Regions from separate parts of the Homo sapiens genome. Here region 1 is linked to region 2. The links are contacts of gene promoters, found by promoter capture Hi-C in blood cells and fetal thymus (Javierre and others, 2016). All regions are on one chromosome and are shown on one strand. The core of a region is centred on a gene start or on the middle of the fragment in contact, and the rest is flanking DNA. Distances in the headings are between cores, read along the strand shown.

What was found. The method cuts DNA at HindIII sites, captures the fragments that hold promoters and counts their contacts. A CHiCAGO score of 5 or more calls a contact.
Region 1: a contact is called between a fragment that was not itself captured here and the fragment with the promoter of BAHD1 in region 2, in 1 of 17 cell types (M2 macrophages). The highest score is 5.6, in M2 macrophages.

Annotation. Positions count from the first base shown.
Region 1 is chr15:40,494,183-40,500,167 of GRCh38, reverse strand. No RefSeq gene overlaps it. Among named protein-coding and RNA genes, the nearest start is that of CHST14, 26 kb to the right of the region's middle. The HindIII fragment of the contact is 5,436 bases long and covers 1-4,019 here.
Region 2 is chr15:40,439,609-40,445,708 of GRCh38, reverse strand. BAHD1 (bromo adjacent homology domain containing 1) reads right to left here and starts at 4,756. Exons shown (of 7, transcript NM_014952.5): 1 at 4,441-4,756. RefSeq lists silencers at 3,331-3,400, 3,421-3,540, 4,261-4,320, 4,769-4,954, 4,381-5,050 and enhancers at 3,706-4,205, 4,206-4,707, 5,513-6,050. The HindIII fragment of the contact is 2,346 bases long and covers 2,932-5,277 here.

The DNA of each region.
Region 1 (5,985 bases), core at 52-2,551, 58 kb before region 2:
ACATTTATTAGCTGTGTTACCTCAGGCACATTTTTTCACTCTGACACATGGTTTCATTATGGAAAATGTTGATAAGAACCCTAATTGGCCAGGTGAGTGGTTCTCATCTGTAATCCCAGGGACTCAGAAGGCTGAAGCAGGAGAATCACTTGTGCCCAGGAGTTTGAGACCGGCCTGGGCAACATAGCAAGACCTGTCTCTACAATAATTTTTAAAAAAAGGCTGGGCGCGGTGGCTCACGCCTGTAATCCCAGCACTTTGGGAGGCTGAGATGGGCGGATCACCTGAGGTCAGGAGTTGGAGACCAGCCTGGCCAACATGGTGAAACCCCGTCTCTACTAAAAATTTAAAAATTAGCCAGGTGTGATGGTGCACGCCTGTAATTCCAGCTTTTTGTGAGGCTGAGACAGGAGAATTGCTTGAACCCAGAAGGTAGAGGTTGCAGTGAGCCGAGATCACACCACTTCACTCCAGCCTGGGTGACAGAGTAAGACTCTGTCTCAGAAAAAAACCCCAAAAAACAAAAAACTTAGCTGGACATGATGACATACACGTGTAGTCCCAGTTACTCGGGAGGCTGAGGTGGGAGGATGATTTGAGCCCAGGAGTTTGAGACCACATGAGCTATCATCACACCACTGCATTCCAGCTTGGGTGACAAAGACCCTGTCTCTAAAAAAGAAAAAAGAGAAAGAAAAAAAAAAACCTCATAGATTACTGTGGGGTTAAATGGGATCATGCATGCAAAGTGCTCAGCACAGCACCTGCCCCTGGCCAGTGCTCCATGGAAGTGAATGGTTATTGCCTTGGCAACAAGACCCTTTCCACCTTCACACGCTGCTTCCCAGGAGCTTCTCCTTCCATTCCACAAGGGTTCTTTCTCACTATGTGCCAAGAACCAATGTACTGGATGATGGTTCTGACTCCAAGTCTAGCCTCATCCTTCGCATCACAACTGCTTTGTTGTCGTTTTTGGTTAACATATTATCATCTGCCAGTAGCATACAGTATGATGACTTGACAAACTACAAAGCAAACCCAGAAATACGTGAAATCAAACCATACAGTCCAATTCTGAGACCCCCTCCAAAGAGCCCCCTCATGACTTTGGGGATTGCAGGAATACGTGCCACTCAGTGCTCAAACTGCCTGCATCCCTTCTTCAAGCCCTCTGCAATCTGCAAAAGTGAAGGGGGGGAAGCAGTATCCCTAAGCAGGGGCTGGGCATCCTCACAGCCTCCTCCCTGCCTGGCACTGGTATCCTCACCTATCTGCAGTGTGGTAACACGACCCTTTTCCCCCAGAGCCAGGTTGCCCGCAAGCCAGTAATGAAGTGTTTTTTACAACCCTGAAAGAAATACTTTAATAAAGCATGTGGTTGGATTATCGAACCCACAAGTATAAAAATATTGTGGTGCTCACACATGCAATGCATGCTGGTTAGTGACTGCCTCCAAAAATGTTTTACTTGCCATCACAGAGAAACGGGTGTATTGAAGATAAATGTTTTTAAAAGACCGACACGTAATGAAGTGAATCATAGTTCATTCACTCCTTCAACAAATACTGAACCCTACCACGGACCAGATGAGCAGCATGCTGGAGATGCAGTGGTAGGCAAGAAAGACAGAACTGCTGCCTTTGATGACCTCACCTTATAGAGGGGGATATAGACATGCATCAAATATAGAATTACAAGCTGTGGTAAGAGCTACAGAGGAGAAGGACACAGTGATCAGGGAGCAAACCACAGAGATCTGATCTGGTCTGCAGGTCAAAGGAGGCTGCCCAGAAAAGTAATGACTGAGCTGAGGGGGCACAGACTATGTAATAGAATGGGGGTCTAGGGGAGAAGCCTCAGCATAGGGGAGTGTCCAGGGATTATGCTAGGGTCACCTCGGGGTCTGGGATAACAGAACTCTCTATCAAAAACGTCTTTTATCCAGAGGCCCACTGGGTGTCTTGGGAAATGGCAGAGAGGATGCTGGGATTCAAGGTTGGGCTCTGGGGGCCAGGCGCAGTGGCTCACGCCTGTAATCCCAGCATTTTGGGAGGCCAAGGCGGGTGGATCACCTGAGGTCAGGAGTTCGAGACCAGCCTGGCCAACATGGTGAAACCCCGTCTCTACTGGAAATACAAAAATTAGCCAGGTGTGGTAGCACACCCCTGAAGTCCCAGCTACTTGTGAGGCTGAGGCAGGAGAATCACTTCAACCTGGGATGTGGAAGTTCCAGTGAGCCGAGATCACACCACTGCACTCCAGCCTGGGTGACAGAGCGAGACTCCGTCTCAAAAAAAAGGTTGGGATCCTAAATAAGAAAGGTAGAAAAATGCTGCCCCAAACTTCTGAGAGAAGCAAGCTGGGTGGGCAGGAACTCGTCCTAAGGTAGGAGAGCGCTGGGCCACATGAACACCATCTGGAAGAACTAGCTGGTGTCTCGTTCACAAGCCAGACTATTCAAGGTCTGGCCCAGACTCAAGAGAGCTGGGCTTGATGTCAGTGGAGAAACCATCCCTCCTCTCACATTAGCAGAGATGGCAGCTGCAGTTGAATGTCATGAGGGCCAGGGTAGTGGCCCTGTCTCTTTTTGGCAGCCAGAGGCCACAGCAGTAAGAAAAGGGCAGCTATACAGAGTGGTAGACATGGCAGAGGCAGGAGCAGCAAGGGCAGTTTCAGGTGAGAGTGAGTTGGCAGAGTCAGCCCAGTGGAGAGGAGGGGCCCATGGTGCTGAGGTCTCATCCAGTGACTTCAATGTGCTGGGGGCTTGTCTTAGAGATCATGGAATTGTTTTATGTCATTAACTGAGCTGCAGGTTGTCAGATTACGAAAACATGATGTTACAGCTTAGAAAATGTCCAGAATTGGGAGGTAACATGGCTCATAGTCCCTTGAAACAAGTGGCAGTCTCCTGGGGGACATTTTCAACAGCACTGAGTCAGAAGTGCAGTAACACCTGTGACATTCAGGATTTTTTTTTTTTTTTTTTTTTTTGAGACGGAGTCTCACTCTGTCGCCCAGGCTGGAGTGCAGTGGCACGATCTCAGCTCACTGCAAGCTCCGCCTCCCGGGTTCACGCCATTCTCCTGCCTCAGCCTCCCGAGTAGCTGGGACTACAGGCACCCACCACCACACCTGGCTAATTTTTTGTATTTTTAGTAGAGACAGGGTTTCACTGTGTTAGCCAGGATGGTCTCGATCTCCTGACCTCGTGATCCGTCCGCCTTGGCCTCCGAAAGTGCTGGGATTACAGGTATGAGCCATGGCGCCCGGCCGACATTCAGGATTTAAATAAGACCTGGGACATCAAAAACCTCATTTACTGCAGGCTCTGGCTCTTTGGGTGCCTACCACTTCCTCCCTTTTTGTAGATCCATTCATGATTGAGAAATATATCAAAAGAGGCAAGTAGAAAACCTTTATATTTATAGTTATTTAAGGAAATGCAAATACAAACCCACTAAAACATTTTTTATTTTTATTTTTTTAGAGACAAGGTCTTGCTCTGTCATCCAGGCTGGAGTGCAATGGTGCAATCATAGCTCACTGCAGCCTCTAACTGCTGGGCTCAAGCCATCCTCCCTTCTCAGCCTTCTGAGTAGCCAGGACTACAGGTACATGCCATCATCACACCTGGCTAATTTTTTAATTTCTTTTTGTAGAGAGAAGGGCTCACTATGTTGCCCAGGCTGGTCTTGAACTCCTGGACTCAAGCGATCCTCTTACCTTGCCTCCCAAAGTGCTGAGATTACAGGCATGAGCCACCTTGCACAGCCACTAAAATACTTTAAAACAAAATTGAAAAACCGCTTTTATTGTTCAACAGTTTAACATTCTTAGTATTTGCAATAGCTAAGCTGAAGGCACAAAGGTAAGCACAAGTAGATATATGGTGTCTATCTGCTTGAAATTCATTGGCTAATTGGGAGCCAGCCATTAATTAAATAATTGCCCTAGGAGATATATAATCACACATAGACAGGAGGGCCATAAAGATGAGGTGCATCTCACTGTGAAAGCTTATAGCAGGCCAACTTATCTACTGGAGGGGGTCAAGGAGGCTCCCCTGAGGAAGTGACAACTGGGAAGGTCTGAAGGATGACAGACAATGCAAGGTAGAAGCAGAGGAGGGAAAGCATTTAAGAGGGAACAGCATGTGCAGAGGCTCTGTGGTAGGCAGGGAAGCAGGTGTAACTGACACCTGAAAAGCCTATGTGGCTAGAAAAAGTGTTCTAGGAAGTGGAGGTGAGAAAGGAAGACAGGGTGGACCATGCAGGGTCTATGGCTGTGCTGAGTATGTAGGTCTTTATTCTATGGCTGTGCTGAGTATATGGGTCCTTATCCTAAGAGTGGAGGGAAGTTACTGAAGGATGTAAGCGGACTGGGCTGGAATGGGACAATGGAGATTTGGGAAGCTAGAAAGGAGGCTATTGCAATAGTTCAGACACAAGACAGTATTAGTCATCACCTTAATTGTGGCACTAGAGAAGGAGTAGAGATACAGAGAAGTGGAGGCATCTTGAAGATAAAACAAGATTGACGACTGACTGGAACATGGGGAGAAAAAGGGGTTAAGCAAGATTCTCAGGTGTGTGGCCTGTGAAACTGCATGAATAGAGGTCTTGTTCATCAAGACAGGAATAGAGTACAAAAGCAAGGCTTAGGCTGTGTGCAGTGGCTTATGCCTATAATCCCAGCACTTTGGGAGGCCAAGGCGGGTGGATCATGAGGTCAGGAGGTCGAGACCATCCTGGCCAACATGGTGAAACCCCGTCTCTACTAAAATACAAAAATTAGCCAGGTGTGGTGGCGCATGCCTGTAGTCCCAGCTACTCGGGAGGCTGAAGCAGGGGAATTGTTTGAACCCAGGAGGTGGAGGATGCAGTGAGCCGAGATCGCGAGCTACTGTACTCCAGCCTGGTGACAGAGCAAGACTCCATCTCAAAAAAAAAAAAAAAAAAAAAAGAATCTGGCACCTCCTCCTCTCTCCCTTGCTCCCTCTCACCATGTGACATGCATGTTCCCCCTCCACCTTCTACTCTGAGTAAAACCTTCCTGAGACCTCACCAGAAGCTGAGCAGATTCTGGTGCCACGCTTGTAGAGCCTGCAGAACTGTGACCCAAATAAACCTCCTTTCTTTGTAAATTACCCAGTCTTGGGTATTCCTTTATAAGCAATGCAAAACAGACTAACACACTTCTTCTTCTCCTCATTTTTCTTGGGGAGAAAAGCATGAATTTTGAACATGTCTAATTGTAAGTACCTTTGAGATGCCTAAATGGTGGTGCTAATTAGCATCTGGATACATGACTCTGTAACACAGAGGGTGAGCCCTGGGCTAGGGATCTGTATTTGAGATCACTGGCATGTATGGTACTTGAAACATCAGGCATTTGGCCAGGCATGGTGGCTCACACTTGTAATTCCAACACTTTCTGGGAAGCTGAGGCAGGAGGATTGGTTGAAGCCAGGAGTTTGACACCAGCCTGGGAAACCAAGCAAGACCCCATTTCTTAAAAAAAAAAAAAGAATGAAAGAAAAAGAAAATTAGCCGGGTGTGGTGATGCACACCTGTGGTCCCAATACTCAGGAGGCCGAGGAAGGACTGCTTGAGGCCAGGAGTTGGAGACTCCAGTGAGCTATTATTGTACCTCTGCACTCCAGCCTGGGTGGCAAAGTGAGACCCCATCTCTAAAAAAGAGGAGAAAAAGGAAACATTGGGCAAGAATGAGAGAGTTGGGAGAAAACATACTGTAAGAGAAAGAGGACTGGGGAAGACCTTGACAAGCCTCAACATTCAGTGACTGAATGTAGGAAATAACCCACAAAAGAGCCAGAAGAGTAGGCAGGGGTCAGAGAGTGAAGAGTAACACTAGCAGAGAGGGCTGTCCAGAAAGCTAAGGGAGGAGGGTGTTTCAGCAGAGAGAGTGTGATTCTCAGGACTGAATCCTGCTGGGAGGTCAAGAAAGAAGCCTGAGGATACCCA
Region 2 (6,100 bases), core at 3,507-6,006:
TCTTCACAACCCATTCATAAAAAGGAGGCCCTTTAATGTCGGGGCTGTTCGTATAATGCTCCATAAACTCGGCAGCTTCGCCTGGCAGCCTTAGTTCAACACAGGCTACTTCTCAACTCCAGAGACTTTTTTTCCTTAAGGTTTTTATTCTCCTTAATGACTCACCTTGCGACAGGGTGCTGAGGCCAGATGTTGCCGGAGCAAGGCCAAGAGGAATAAGAACAGATAAAATGAAAACACACAAGTCCTCCTGGATGCTGGAACAGAGAGGTGAGGAGGAATGAAAATAATTTTGAGAATTCCCCATAGAACTCCAATTTGAAGTATGTATGCTAGGAGGCTGAATTCCTTCCAGGTTTACTAAAACTTCCTTTCTGGATGTCAAATGTGCCCCAACTTATACCTCTAACCAGAGAAGGTGTGAAAGGGTTGTTTTTTTTTTTTTTTTTTTTACCCAAAAGGAGCTCTCTCTAGTTTTTAATTTGCACCGGGGATGAATAAATAAACAGAAATTTTCTCTGTTTCTTGATATAAGTGTTCCAGGGGCTGCTGGCTCCAGAAGGGGCACAATTTGCTCAGAGTGAAGAAACTCAGGCAATCCCCAGAAAGAGAGGAAGGACTGTGTTCTAGGACACACAGCAAACACAGCTAAAGGAGCTGAGAAGAGAGCCCAGGAGATGCATTCTGAGGTAGCTTTTCTCCTGCTACAGTAGAAGGAGGAGAGAAGTAGTAGGGATTTTTTTTTTAATTGACGGGGGAGCGGTCTGCATTGCCATGGCAACTGTGAGGGGTGGCCTTCCCGCGTAGAAGGGAAATGCTGGTCCATTAATCATCAAACTGGGGCACAAAAGGGAGGTTTGGGGGAAAGGGGATGGATGCAGAATATATTTTTTCACTATCTGGCCTCTAACCAGTCACCAGTCCTCTTTCCCGTTTCCCCCATGGTCCAGGGTTGATGGTGAACCAAAACAGAAGCCTGAGAGAGCAGGGATTGTAGCTTTCCTTTATGAGGGGTCCAATGTGGGGCTGATTGTGCCTCTTATGTTGGTGATGCCCCCATAAACACCTCTTCCAAACCAGCCCCAAAAGTCCCATCTATGGGCCAGACCCAGGAGTATTTTTCTTTTCTGTGCTCAGAATTGTGTTTTCTCCCTCATTTGCACCCGGTTTGAGAAGAGATAAAACATGGATTCATTTAGCATGAACAACAAGGAAAACTGCATAAGAGCAGCAAAGCTGGGTAGAAAGAATGGTGGTCCGGTGAGGTAGGAGGAAAACAGGATTACAGCCCTTTTCCAATGTCTATATGGTATCACATAAGCAATCCATAGGACTCTTCACCAGCAGAAATATTAGAAACAGCAGTTAAATTTCCCATTTACAGCACCCCAAACATGCCCTATCCATATGCCTTTGACAGAAAGGGCTGGAAATCTCCAAGGACTCCAATATGAGCATTTCTGGAGAAGCTGAAAGGAAGGTCTCCCCCTTGTTCCTGCCTAACTCAGCAACCAACCACATTTATTCACTCAACAAAAATGATGTGCACAGCACTGTACAAGAAATACCAGAATATTCACACACACACACACACACACAGAGGTTTAACACTCATATTGTTCCTGTCCTTAAGAAATTTCCAACCTACAAAACCACTCAAGAGGATACCACGTTAGAAAATCCAGAGTCATGAGCTCAGGCGGGGATGACTATGTTGGCCTGGAGTGGTCTGAGCAACAACCAGACTAAGGACAAGTGGGATTCAAGTGGGAGTAAAGGAAGGGGAGCGGCAGCAGTGAAGATGCAGGAAGAAAAAATGTGCATGGTATGGCTAGGGAAGAGCTGGAGGGGACACTGTCTAGGGTCAGACTGCAGGGAACGGGGAGCCATTGCAAGTCTGTGAGAAAGGGAGTGACACCGGGAAGGGGTGTTTTAGGAAGAATGACCTGGTAGCTGCATACAGACTGGATCAGAAGGGCCAAAGGAAGCAGGAGGGAAAGGGAGGCTATAACAACAACACAGGCCTGACACGGGGACAGCAGGACAACAGAAAGGAAGAAAGAGAGGGAGATATCAAAAAGAACCTAATCACTGGCTAAACTCTCCGGAGCAAACCCTCCTTAACACCAGATCCGACTGGCATGAGTCTCCTGCCAGGTAAGAGCCCTACCAAAGAGGGAAATGCTATTTGGGCAACTCCCCTTCATATTCCAGTGGCCAGACCACGTCATCCCCTTCTGACTGCCACCAAAAGAAATCACATGCCGTGTAGCCTCACAGAAGGCACAAAGGCCTTGAGATTCATCATCACTCTCTGGATTTTAGACATGCAATTAAATTATCTCAGAACAAACTTTAGCCTCCTGAGTGAGGTAATACCTACCTTTCTCACAAGCCTCAGCTCCATCCAGGCTGGGGTCTAGATCATTCCAGGGAGGTCCATGGGGGGTGGCCATGAATAAACTCCCATGCCCATGCTACCCTCTGAAGTGGCAGACAAGCAGCTTTCCCAGGTGGGATTACAGCCAACCACAGTTGAGAGCGGCTTCTAACCAGCCCTACCTGAGGTGGGACTCGAACTCAGATTCTCAGCAAAATCCACATTCTGAAACAGCCTGAGTTTCCCTGTCCTTATGATCCCAACTCTTCTTTTGGGTGTGGGGTTCACATGGAGGGCATGGGAGCTCTGAATGAGTTTTTCCAAGCAGGTAAACAACATCCAGCTCACAGCTGGTCACCGGGGGAGATGGAGGCACTCACAGCTTAAGCCAGTGGTTCCTAAGCATCCTCCAAGCTGGCCAAGGACAGTGGTGCCCCTCCAAGACATGTGGTCCCTCTGGGCCCTTTTTCTTTTTTTTTGTGGAAGACAGCGAGGTGAAGAGAGTAGGGAGGAAAGTCTCAGGTGGCACAAAGTAAAAGGACTGGAAAGCTTTTTATTTCATTATTAAATTCCTGCCTGGATTTATAAACTCAGCTTCTCATTTTTCTAAGTGGGTACCTTTGTGGCTAAGGAAAAGTGCTGGAGGCAGCTGCGGAGGGCTGGCGGGAGCCCACGGGGTGGGGTGTCTCTTGTCCTAATCAAACTAGTCTTCTGCACTTCTAACACTGTCGACAATGGGCGACTAGGAGATGTCCCAGGTGGGGTTAGACTTCTGCCTGTAGGCAGACTCTGCTTGTTGAAAAACCCCTCATTCTTGACAGGCTCTACAGCGGCTCACTGGGTCTGTCGCCTCGGTGAGTAGCAACCCCGTCGCCACCAGCCAAGGCACATCATGAGCATACACCCCCACCCCGGCCCCTCGGCCCCCGGCAAGTAGACCCCACTTCCCAGAGCCTCGAGGCCAACAGCGAGCGGCTAGAGCGGCAAGCCAGTGCCGCAGCTCCTCCCGGCGGGCGCCCCGGCCCCCGCAGTCCCCGGGGCAGAGTCCGGCCCCGTCGCCCGCCCCTCGGAGTGGGTGCCTCGGACCCGCTCCCCTCCCCGACGCCACCACCTGCGCCCGCTCCGGCGCCGCCTTTGTCCGGCGCTTCACCGCCAAGCGAGCCCCTCGGGCCCGACCTGACCCGGCCCCCAGCCCCAGAAGAGAGGCGGCGGAGCGAGCAGGGCAAGACCAGGCCGGGCCGCGAGCACAGGGTCCCGCTGTCACTTGGAGGCGGTCTGACAACTTCGATTCCCCCCGCCACACCTCGGACTCGGCCGCCGCCCCGCAAGGTCCCCGCAGGGCCTCCCGCGGCCCACACTCGCTTTTCGAACCGGTCCCCTTCCGTCTTCGGCGCCTCCCTTCCTCTCAGCCCGATCGAGTCGGGTCTACACTACTCCCCCCTGCCGCCCCCGGCCCGGCGCGGCCCTCATCCCCTGCCCCCCATCCAGCAATAACCGGTCAGCTCCCAGCGCGGGAGGGCGCCCCCCACCCTGAGCGGGCGATCCCGCGGCGCCGCCCCCGGCCGCGGCCCCTTGCCTCGGGGACCGCGATGGGGGAGGGGGCGCGGCGGGGGCCTCGCCGCCCGCGCACTCGGAGGCGAGCCGGCTCCGCCGCGGCGAGGAAAGACCGGCGTCCTCCCGCCCTCCGCAGCTCGGGACGCCCGCGCCGCCGCCGCCCGGCCGAGCTGCCACCCTGCGGCCGCCACCCACCCCGCCCCCGGCCTGCAAGGCGGGCGGCCCCCGGGGGCTGTCACCTCGAGGCGCGCCGCGTTCCCCGATGGCGGGACCGTGGTGCCGGACCCAGGGGAGGGAGGTGGCGCGAGCGGGCGGGCGGCCGCACCTGCTTCGCGTCGTCCGTCCGTCCGTCCCTTCCCGGGCTGGCGGGGGCGGTGGCGCGGCGCGCTCGGTGGGGCGCGCTGACGGGCGGCCGGTGCTCTCCCCCTTCGCTCTTCTGCCTACCTCGCTCGCTCCCTCCCTCCAGCTCGCCCCTTCCCCCTCCTCGACCCCGGCCCCTGACTCACCAGAACGGGCGGCGCGGACGGCGCGGCTCTGGGCGCCCGCAGGCCCCGGCCGGGCTGGAATCCGGCGGCTGGAACCCCCCGGGGGCGCTCAATTCCCGGGCTCCACGCTGCTGCGTCAGCGCCTCCTCCTGGGGGCCGGGGCCGGGCGGGCGGAGCGGGGACCGCGGCCGGGCGGGGCCGTCGGGGGGGGCGGGCGCGCCTGGCCGGGGCGGGCGGACGGCGGGGGCCGGACGGGCGGGGCAGGCAGCCGGACGGGCGGGCGGCGGGGGCCGGGCTCCGGGATCCGCTACGCCGCTCGCGGTTCCCCCACAAACTCCCCGAGAGCGGAGCCTCCGCCGCCCTCCTTCCTGCTTCCTCGTCCCCAGCCAATCAGCAGCGCGCCCCTCGGCCAGCTCCGCCAATCAGCCGCCCCGCCCTGCGCTGGCTCCGCCAGCCAATCCGGCCCTCGGCTCCCCCTCCCGGTCTCTGACCAATCAGAACCGTGGGTCGGTCGTCCCAACGCAGGGGGCAGCACGAGGCGGCCGGGGGAGGCGGTGCGGGGAGTGGTGGGGCCTTGGGGGAGGGGTGCCGTGCCAAGGGTGGTGGCAAGGGGTGATTTTCTTTGCCGGCTTCTTGGATTTTTCTCTTCGTCTTCAGAACCTGAGCCCGTATCCCACGGTGACTCGACCCCAATCTCCCAGCTGCTAGCCCCCCCGGAAAAATCTTATCTCCCCCCGCCCTGGCCATCACCCCTCCGCATCCCCTTTCCCCCAAATCCTCCCCAGCACGCGCTGGAGAAAACTGCGGGCCGAGGAACACCCCATCCTCGCCGGAGGCTGCTGCCCCCAGGGCAAAGCTTCAGGAAGACCAGCCGAAAATCAAGCGAGAACAACCCCCCTTTCCTGCAGAAAGGGCCCCAGACTCCTGCAAAAGGGCCCCGACTGCTGAGAAGCCCCTCCCGCCCTTGCCTCATCTTTCCGACTTCCCTGCCTGCCACGTCTCCTTTCCTTTCCAGCAAGGTCGGTCCTGGCTCGGTAACCCCTCACCCGCATCTCTTTTTCCTCTTTCTGCCCTTCACCTACCGCCCCCAACCCCAGCTCCTAATTCACCCTCTTCAGAAGCAGAGTGTGGAGCCCTCATCCATTTCCAGCTGACAGCAGAGCCTGGTCTGTGAGTCCTTGACACCCACACACCCTCTTCCACCACCGCGGGGAACATCAGAGCTCTCCGGGGGAGGGAGAAAGGGGCGGGCAGCCTGACAGGAGCGGCTGGACTCCCTCCCTCGCGTCCCCAAGCTACGGGAGAACCAAGTGTAGACACTTACCTGGCTTCCCCCTAGTCACCAAATGCTGTGGCTCCGTCTCTCACCCCCACAGACGTGCCCTCCCAAGCCCGAGCACGCTCGCGGGGTCAGTGGGGTGGGTGGGCACAGCAGGCTAAGGGCACAGAGAGAGATGGGAAGTCCCTGTTAGGTGCGGGAAGGAGCTGTGTCTTGGGCACCTGGTGGTGCCAGAGCCCGCCTAGGACTTCACTAAGCCCGGGATATGCACACAGTAGGTTCTCGAGAAATGCTGAGTTCACCCCTGAACAAAGCCTCATTCCCAATTCAGGCGGGGGAGGGGAGCTTTAGGAGGTAAAAGGAGCAGCGGCAGAAAGGGTAGTGTCAAGTCACCAGAGCGCT